Linked DNA regions of Homo sapiens: region 1 is linked to region 2. Evidence: promoter capture Hi-C in 16 types of primary human blood cells and fetal thymus (Javierre and others, 2016). All regions are on one chromosome and are shown on one strand. Each heading gives the region's core, a stretch centred on a gene start or on the middle of the fragment in contact. The rest is flanking DNA. Distances are from core to core; before and after follow the strand shown.

Evidence for each region. Contacts are between HindIII fragments. The CHiCAGO score rates a contact against its expected background, and 5 or more counts as called.
Region 1: a contact is called between a fragment that was not itself captured here and the fragment with the promoter of VCPKMT in region 2, in 5 of 17 cell types (fetal thymus, total CD8 T cells, total CD4 T cells and 2 more). The highest score is 7.5, in fetal thymus.

The regions. Positions count from the first base shown.
Region 1 is chr14:49,600,263-49,604,644 of GRCh38, reverse strand. It overlaps LRR1 (leucine rich repeat protein 1), which reads right to left. Exons shown (of 4, transcript NM_152329.4): 2 at 2,177-2,275. It also overlaps the pseudogene RHOQP1. Among named protein-coding and RNA genes, the nearest start is that of LRR1, 3.5 kb to the right of the region's middle. The HindIII fragment of the contact is 1,015 bases long and covers 2,426-3,440 here.
Region 2 is chr14:50,114,067-50,118,097 of GRCh38, reverse strand. VCPKMT (valosin containing protein lysine methyltransferase) reads left to right here and starts at 1,526. Exons shown (of 6, transcript NM_024558.3): 1 at 1,526-1,811; 2 at 1,919-2,029; 3 at 2,187-2,259; 4 at 3,694-3,813. The coding sequence starts at 1,546. SOS2 (SOS Ras/Rho guanine nucleotide exchange factor 2) reads left to right here. Exons shown (of 23, transcript NM_006939.4): 23 at 1-968. RefSeq lists an enhancer at 1,530-1,589. The HindIII fragment of the contact is 15,614 bases long and covers 787-4,031 here.

The DNA of each region.
Region 1 (4,382 bases), core at 1,684-4,183, 510 kb after region 2:
TCACAGTTCACTGCAGCCTTGACCTTCCAGGCTCAGGTGACCCTCCACCTCAGCCTCCCAAGTAGCTGAGATTACAGGTGCACACCACTATGCCTGGCTAATTTTTTTGTAGAGATGGGGTTTCACCATGTCACCCAGGCTGATCTTGAACACCTGGATTCAAGCAATCCGCCCAACTAGGGCTCCCAAAGTGCTGGGATCATAGGCGTGAGCCACCGTGTCTGGCCTCCAGGTTCTAACTTGTGGGATTAAGTGATCCTCCTGCCTCGGCCTCCCAGGTGTGAGCCACTGCACCCAGCCAGTTTATGGTATTTTTGTTTTGTTTTGTTTTGTTTTGTTTGAGACAGGGTCTGGCTCTGTCGCCCAGGTTGGAGTGCAGTGGTGCAATCTTGGCTCATTGTAACCTGCACCTCCCAGGCTCAAGTGATCCTCCCACCTCAGGCTCCCAAGTAGCTGGCACCACAGGTGTGAAAACCACGCCTGGCTAATTTTTTTTTTTTTTTTTGTGGAGACAGGGTTTCACCATGTTGCCCAGGCTGGTCTTGAACTCCTGAGAGCAAGTGATCCACCAGTCTTGGCCTTCCAAAGTGCTGGGATTACAGGTGTGAGCTATGGCACCCAGCCTCAGTTTATATTTTTATAAGAATGATTACAGTCCGGGCACGGTGGCTCATGCCTATAATCCCAGCACTTTGGGCGGCCAAGGTGGGCGGATCACGAGGTCAGGAGTTTGAGACCAGCCGGGCCAACATGGTGAAACCCGTCTCTACTAAAGATACAAAAAATTAGCTGGGCATGGCGGCACGTGCCTGTAATCCCAGCTACTGGGAGGCTGGGGCAGGAGAATCGCTTGAACCCGGGAGGTGGAGGTTGCAGTGAGCTGAGATCACGCCACTGTAATCCAGCCTGGGTGACAGGGAGAGACTCTGTCTCATTAAAAAAAAAAAAAAAAAAAAAAAAAAAGGAATGATTACAGTAAGGGCCAGGCACAGTAGACAAAAATTCGCCAGGAGTGGTGGCACCCACCTGTGGGTTGCAGTGAACCAAGCTCTTCCCACTGCACTCCAACCTGGGTGACAGAATGAGACTCCATCTCAAAAAAAAAAAAAAAAAAAAAAAAAGAAGAAGAAGAAAGAATGATTACAGTAAATAAAATACAAGATGGTTCTAATTGAATTTTTTCCTCTTTTATTACAACAAACTTAGATTTGTAACCTGTGGTTTAGCTGGCAAAATGTAGACCTGTGCAGTTGCCTTATAGAGTTCCAGTCAAAGAACACCCTAGGGCTCCATCTTGAGCACAGAAGCAAACCCAGTTTTCTTCCCATCCTGGGAATCTTACTGAGGCAGACTTTGCCCTTTTAGAAGGCACACAAGCATATTTGGGAAGCTGCCTCTTGTGCCATTGCCTCTTCAAAAAACCTGCAAGAGTCTGTCCCTATTCGGCTATATGGGATAGCAGAATGTGCAAACAGCCTTCTTTAAAGAAAATACAGGCCAGGCTGAGCACAGTGGCTCACGCCTGTAATCCCAGCATTTTGGAAGGCTGAGGTGGGTGGATCGCCTGAGTTCAGGAGTTCAAGACCAGCCTGGTCAACATGGTGAAACCCTGTCTCTACTAAAGATAAAAAAAAAAAAAAAATCAGCCACGCATGGTGGTGGGTGTCTGTAATCCCAGCTACTCGGGAGGCTGAGGCAGGAGAATTGTTTGAACCCGGGAGATGGAGGTTGCAGTGAGCTGAGATCGTGCCACTACACTCCAGCCTGGGCAGCAAGAGCAAAACTCCGTCTCAAAACAAACAAACAAACAAACAAAAAAAGCAAGCAAGCAAGCAAATACACGCCAGGCCAAGTATGGTGGCTCATGCTTATAATCCCAACACTTTGGGAGGCTGAGGCAAGAGGATCGCTTGAGGCCAGGAGTTCAAGGCCAGTCTGGGCAACATCATATCAAGACTCCGTCTCTACAAAAAGTTATTTTAAAAATTTATCCGGGAGTGGTGAGGTACACCTTTAGTCCCAGATATTCAGGAGGCTCGCTTGAGCCTAGGTGTTTGATGCAGTGAGCTATGACTATGCCTCTGTACTTCAGCTTGGGTGACAGAACAAGACTCTGTTTCTAAAAAATAAAGAAAATACAGCCAAATATTAATCATTAATGTTTTTAATACCATACCTTACTTAGACAGATATCCACAGGAGGCTCCTTTAACCGAACAGTGGCTTTCCCCTCATCTACAAATTTGGTGAAGAATTGCTCAATGTTCTCCCTTAGCTGCATAAAACCAATAGAAAAAAAAGAAGAAAACTAATTATTGTTACTCAGTAACATTTATTACAACTAGAATGTGCCAGTTACTTTGCCAGGCTTTGGTTTGGCTTTTAGTCCTTGAGTCTGAGTGTTTTCATTTTAAGTTTTAAAGCTTTTTATCACGCCACTGCACTCCAGGCTGGGCAACAGAAAGAGACTCCTTCTCAAAAAAAAAAAAAAAAAAAAAAAAAAAGTTGTTTTTTTTTGAGACAGAGTCTCACTCACTCTCACCCAGGATGGAGTGAAGTGGTGCCATCACTGCAACCTCCACTTCCCAGGTTCAAGCAATTCCCATGACTCAGCCTCCTGAGTAGCTCGGATTACAGGTGCGTGCCACCATGCCCGGCTAATTTTTGTATTTTTAGTAGAAACACGGTTTCATCATGTTGGCCAAGCTGGTCTAGAACTCCTGGCCTCAAGTGATCTGCCTGCCTGGGCCTACCAAAGTGCTGGGATTACAGGCATGAGCCACGGCGCGTGGCCAAGTTTTAAAGTTTTTTTTTTTTTTTTTTTTTTTAGCAGTTGGGAAGTTATACTCCTCATCTAGCTGGTGGTGGATGTTACTGCTCTGTCTGTCCAGTAACTCTCCTTTGAGAACAGGATCACCATGTTTTGAGAGAATGCTCCTTTTCTCCCATTCCAACTATGTAACTGTAGGAAGAGTTGCCAATAGCAGTTACTTGCCTTCATAACTTCAGTCCATTAGCCTGGGGTGGGCACACCTCCCAGTAGGTTATATACAAACTCCATGAGAGCAGGAATCTTGTCTCCTTTGCTATTCTATCCTGAGTGCTAGAACGATGACTGACACATAATGAGTGCTCAAAAAAAATTTAATGATTATCATCTATATAAATGGCATATTTAAAATTTAAAAAAAATTAATGATTGCTGTTGCATCTGCTTTAGATTTCAACAACTATTGATTCAGAACCCACTATGTACCAGGTACTCTAATAGGGGCTTGGGACATAGCAATGAATAAGACTGACAGGGTAACTACACTTAAAGAGTTGACAATCTGATGAGAGATAGTTATTAAACAAGTACTTATAAGCATAACAAATATCAAGACAAGGCAAGTGCAGGATGCTGTGACCTGATTTTTTTTAAGAAAGCACATTAAGCTTTAATATAGAAATATTTAGGTTACACTTGTGCTCAAGTAATAAAACATTTGTTCTTTTTTGATCTCATACATTCTCTCCTCAGGTATGGCCCATCTCCTGTACGCTTGGAGCGACCTTTGGCTACGTGGCTGGCCTTGTTATTTCACCACTCTGGGTATGCTGGAATAGAAAGCAACTTACATACAAGAACAATTAACTGGAGAAAAGGGAGATATTTCTTTGTGCAGATTCTGTAAGGGCTGTGCAGAAATGTGTATGGTCAAAGCCAAGCAGTTCCATCTACAGCTCTGTTTTTTATGTAGTTACAACATGATGTGATTGTAGCTTTTTAAACTATGAAACCCCTGAGAGATTGTACCTTCTAGTTGAAATAAAGTATTTATAATAGATTGTGGCTTCAGATGCTGCTTACTGCTTCTTAAATCTTTAAGGAACATTCTTAATAAACTTTACAGAATTCTGAGGACAGGTTTTGTTTTCTTTCAAGTTTTGAACTGCTTCATTACCTATAAAAGGTCTGGGTATAGCTGCAGCATTTCATTTGCTTTCTGAGAGAAATGGACAGTTTCCTTGGCCACTGAAGATGTTTCTCACGTAATTAAACAACAGTTTATACATCTTGATCCTATTCTTTTTTTTTTACAGTGTGTTTCTTTGGAGTTAAAATGGCTATGATAGCCTCATCAAAAACAGTCTTCAATCCCTTCTGGGTTAAAGCTGAACATTCCACATAGCAGCATGCTCCTATCTCTTTTGCTAGTTTCTGTCCTTGTTCCACACATATAGGTTTTTCTTTCATATCACTCAGTCTTGCTAAAGTTTTGGGGTCATCTCGGAGATCAATCTGAGCTCCTATTAATAAAAAGGGTACATTTGGTGCGTATTCCTTAAGTTCCGGTACCCACTCCTCCCTCACATTTTGAAATGAGGCTGGATTTACC
Region 2 (4,031 bases), core at 277-2,776:
AATTTATATTTGCACTGTAAACTCTGCAAAAATATGGTTTAAAGTGACATGATTGCACTGAAAAGGGATAGTGCTTTTGTGAAATTTTTCAAATTTGAGTAATAGATGCCTTTTTAAGGCAGTGAATTTACACAAATATGGGAGGGGTATATGGTGTTACTGATTTTTAAACCTCTTTGACCATCTTCTAGTTTTTACTTCTAGTTTTTACATCTAGGAGAATTGTGAATAACACCAACTGTTCTTAAACTCTTTAATGCCATGTCTTAAATGCCGGTATTTGCTGCTGAAGACAAAAATGAAAAGTAGGATGAAAATAATAGAATGGCACTGTAAGTGTTTATTATTTTGTCAAAATGTAAACAAAGACTACATAACCCAATGATGGAGGGAAAAAGGGCATGTATCTCATTCAGATGTGCCTTTTGTTTTTGCAGACTATGACGTCTTTAGCTAATGAATTGCCTATTGTTATGGAAAACAGTTAATATGCCATGTATGTACAGTTTTGTTTATATTGTATATTTAAAGATACTGCTAATAACCTATATAAATTTAAGTGACTTGAGGCCTATAATACAATCTGCTACTTTACTAATTCATAAATTCAAAAAAAATTCTATGGCATAGGAACCAACTGCCTTGCCTTCAAGACCTAGTAACTTTCTCTATAAATCTCGTGTTAACTGAAATTTTTTTTAAATATATTTTTTAGATTGGTAATATTTAAACCAGCAAATACTTAAAGCTTTATTAAACATTTTAATCAGATAAGTGAGTAAAGCTTTTATTTGCCATTTGGATGCCTTCGTTCAAAGTGATAGAGTGTTTTGCTGATAGTGCTGTAGCAGCAGTTGTAAAGTAGCCAAAAGCCACGTTGTTTATTTACTGGTTTGTGGCCTTTTACTGTGCTTTGTATCAGAGTTCTTAACAAGATTAATAAATCACCCCAGTCTTAATTTTTAAAAGACTTTTAAAATATGTGTTTTCATTATAAGGAACAAAGGGGGAGATTGTTGAGTCCTATAGACACACACACACACACACACAATTTTTTCTTCACTGTTAAATGTGAGCTGCAGGCTTCTAGCAACCACTTTTATGAATTCATACAAAAAACTAGGAGCATACTAGGAACTTGAAAAGGAAGATTGTAAGATTATAGCCATCTTTGGTAGGATCTTGGAAGCTGATTGCATTTAAGCCTTGTAACTACTATGTAAATCAAGTGTCCAACTTGGTAAACTCTGAGGTTGGCTTTGTTTTTTAAAGAGCAGATTATAATAGTTTTGTCTGGGAAAGTGATTTAAACGGCCTCTTCGTTAAGCCAAACGTGTGATTTAGGGTAGAGGGAGGCTGCCAAGCGCGTCGGGTAAGCAGGGGCCCCACGCTCGGCCCCGCCCAGGTAACGCTGCCTTCCGGGCTTTGTTAACTCGCGCGCGCTGCGTCGCCAACTCAGCGGCGGGCAGGGGGCGGAGCCGCAGGGCGGGGCGGTGCGCGTTGATGTGACGTCCCTGCGCGCGCCGCTTTCTGTTGCCGGGCGCAATGGCGGATACGCTGGAGTCCTCGCTGGAGGACCCACTGCGGAGCTTTGTGCGAGTTTTGGAGAAGCGGGATGGTACAGTGCTACGACTACAGCAGTATAGCTCCGGTGGCGTGGGTTGCGTTGTGTGGGACGCTGCCATTGTCCTTTCTAAATACCTGGAAACGCCCGAGTTTTCTGGCGACGGGGCCCACGCGCTGAGCCGGCGGTCGGTGCTGGAGCTGGGTTCGGGCACCGGGGCCGTGGGGCTCATGGCTGCTACCCTCGGGTAAGAGCTGGCGGGCGGGCGGGATGTGGGGGCGCCTTCTTGCTGGGGAAATCCGGATTACAGGCTTTCCCCCCTGTGCCTACACCTCAGTCGACGTTATTTTATAGGGCTGATGTTGTAGTCACCGATCTTGAGGAATTGCAAGACTTGCTGAAGATGAATATTAATATGAACAAGCATCTTGTCACTGGTTCTGTTCAAGCCAAGGTACTGAAATGGTTTGTATGGCCTTTCAGCTTGTTTTAAGATATTGATTTGTAGTTTGTTTTGAATTGCGTTTCATTAAAAGGATGGAAGGGGACTTTCCGGTTCTTTATAAAACAAGAGTATTTTGAATTATTAAAACAATTGAAATATTTGTTTGGCATTTTTAAGGGGGGAAGAAATAGAAGGCTTTCCTTCTCCACCCGACTTCATACTGATGGCCGACTGCATATACTATGAAGAGGTAAGTATCCAGTGAGCGAAGTCTCTTCACTTAGAAGATGAACCTTATTCCATGAATTCTAAAGCACACGTTTCTTCACATTTTAACATCTTTGAATCCGGGATTTGCCTTATAGTTGATGCAGTAAAGAGAAGATAAAAGTCACCAGGGACCATATGTATATACGCTCATCATTATCATACCGACCTGGTGAAGCATGTTGAGAAAAGTGTTATATGCATTTTACTAGAGGCTTCTGTAAAAATTTTAAAGGATTTTGCCAATTGGATGTTATGAAAAGCCAAAATCCTCTCTTTTTCCCTTGGTTGTTCCCACGGAACATGTTAACCATGACATTGAGAATTAAGTTATAAATAATTCATTGTTCTTTTCTTTAAATACCAGTTTGGGCCGGGCGCGGTGGCTCACGCCTGTAATCCCAACACTTGGGAGGTCAAGGCAGGTGGCTCACCTGAGGTCGGGAGTTCGAGACCAGCCTGACCTACATGGCAAAACCCTGTCTCTACTAAAAATACAAAATTAGCCAGGCGTGGTGGTGCATGTCTGTAATCCTAGCTATTTGGGAGTCTGAGGCAGGAGAATCGCTTGAACCTGGGAGGCGGAGGTTGCAGTGAGCCGAAATCATGCCATTGCATTCCAGCCTGGGCAACAAGAGCAAAACTCTGTCTCAAAAAAAAAAAAAAAAAAAAAAAACATCAGTTTGTATAGTGTTGTGGGCATCGATTATTTTAAAAATAATTAGCATTGAACCAAGTTAGGGTCAGATTTAACTTTTGTAGGGAAATCGTTGATTATTTAAATCCCAAATTAGATTAAATAAAATTAAACTTTTAAGAGTAAGGTTGATTCCATTTGTTTCCCATGAGAACTCCAAAATGCAGTCATCTGAATCCTTTTTCTGGAAACCAAAATCAGTACATGGTTTAGTTAACAGGAGCTTACCCAATCATTAGTTACAGAGGGGTTTTTGTTTGTTTGTTTTTGTTTTAAGATAGGGGTCTTGCTCTGTCACACATGTTGTAGTGCAGTGGAGTGATCATAGCTCACTGTAACCTCGAGCTCCTGAGGCTCAAGTAATCCTCCCATTCAGCCTCCTCAATAGCTGGGACTATAGGTGTGCACCAGCATGCTGGCTAATTTTTAAATTTTTTGTAAGGTGTTGCGGGGGGTGGTTTGTCTCTCGCTGTATTCTCCAGGCTGGTCTTCAACTCCTGCTTTCAAGCGATCTTTCCACCTCTGCCTTCCAAAGTGTTGATATTACAGGTGTGAGCCACTGCACCTAGCCTAGAGCTTTAATTACATGTGCTTTGTTGGATTGATTCAAAGATGGATAAATTGTAGGGGAGCTATAAATACCCCTGTACCTCCTCAACCTACTTTTAGAGTAGAAAAATTTTTAAATCAAAAACAAAAAATATATTCTTTTTTAAATAGTCTTTGGAGCCATTGCTGAAAACTCTAAAAGATATCAGCGGATTTGAAACTTGTATTATATGTTGTTATGAACAACGAACAATGGGGAAAAATCCAGAAATTGAGAAAAAATATTTTGAGGTAAGTATTAAGTACTCTATTATCTTTGTAGTGATTTCCCTTCAGGGGGGCTGTATGTGACTCTTCAAGTATATTATGGTAATTTTGGGTGGGGAAAACATGCTGTTTGTGTGAAGCTGAGGAAAGGATCTTCACAGCCCATGATTCTACGAAGCTCCCCTTTTTCATCTTTTCTGATACTTTATTTCATTTCTAATTAGTTGATCTATGGCTACAGA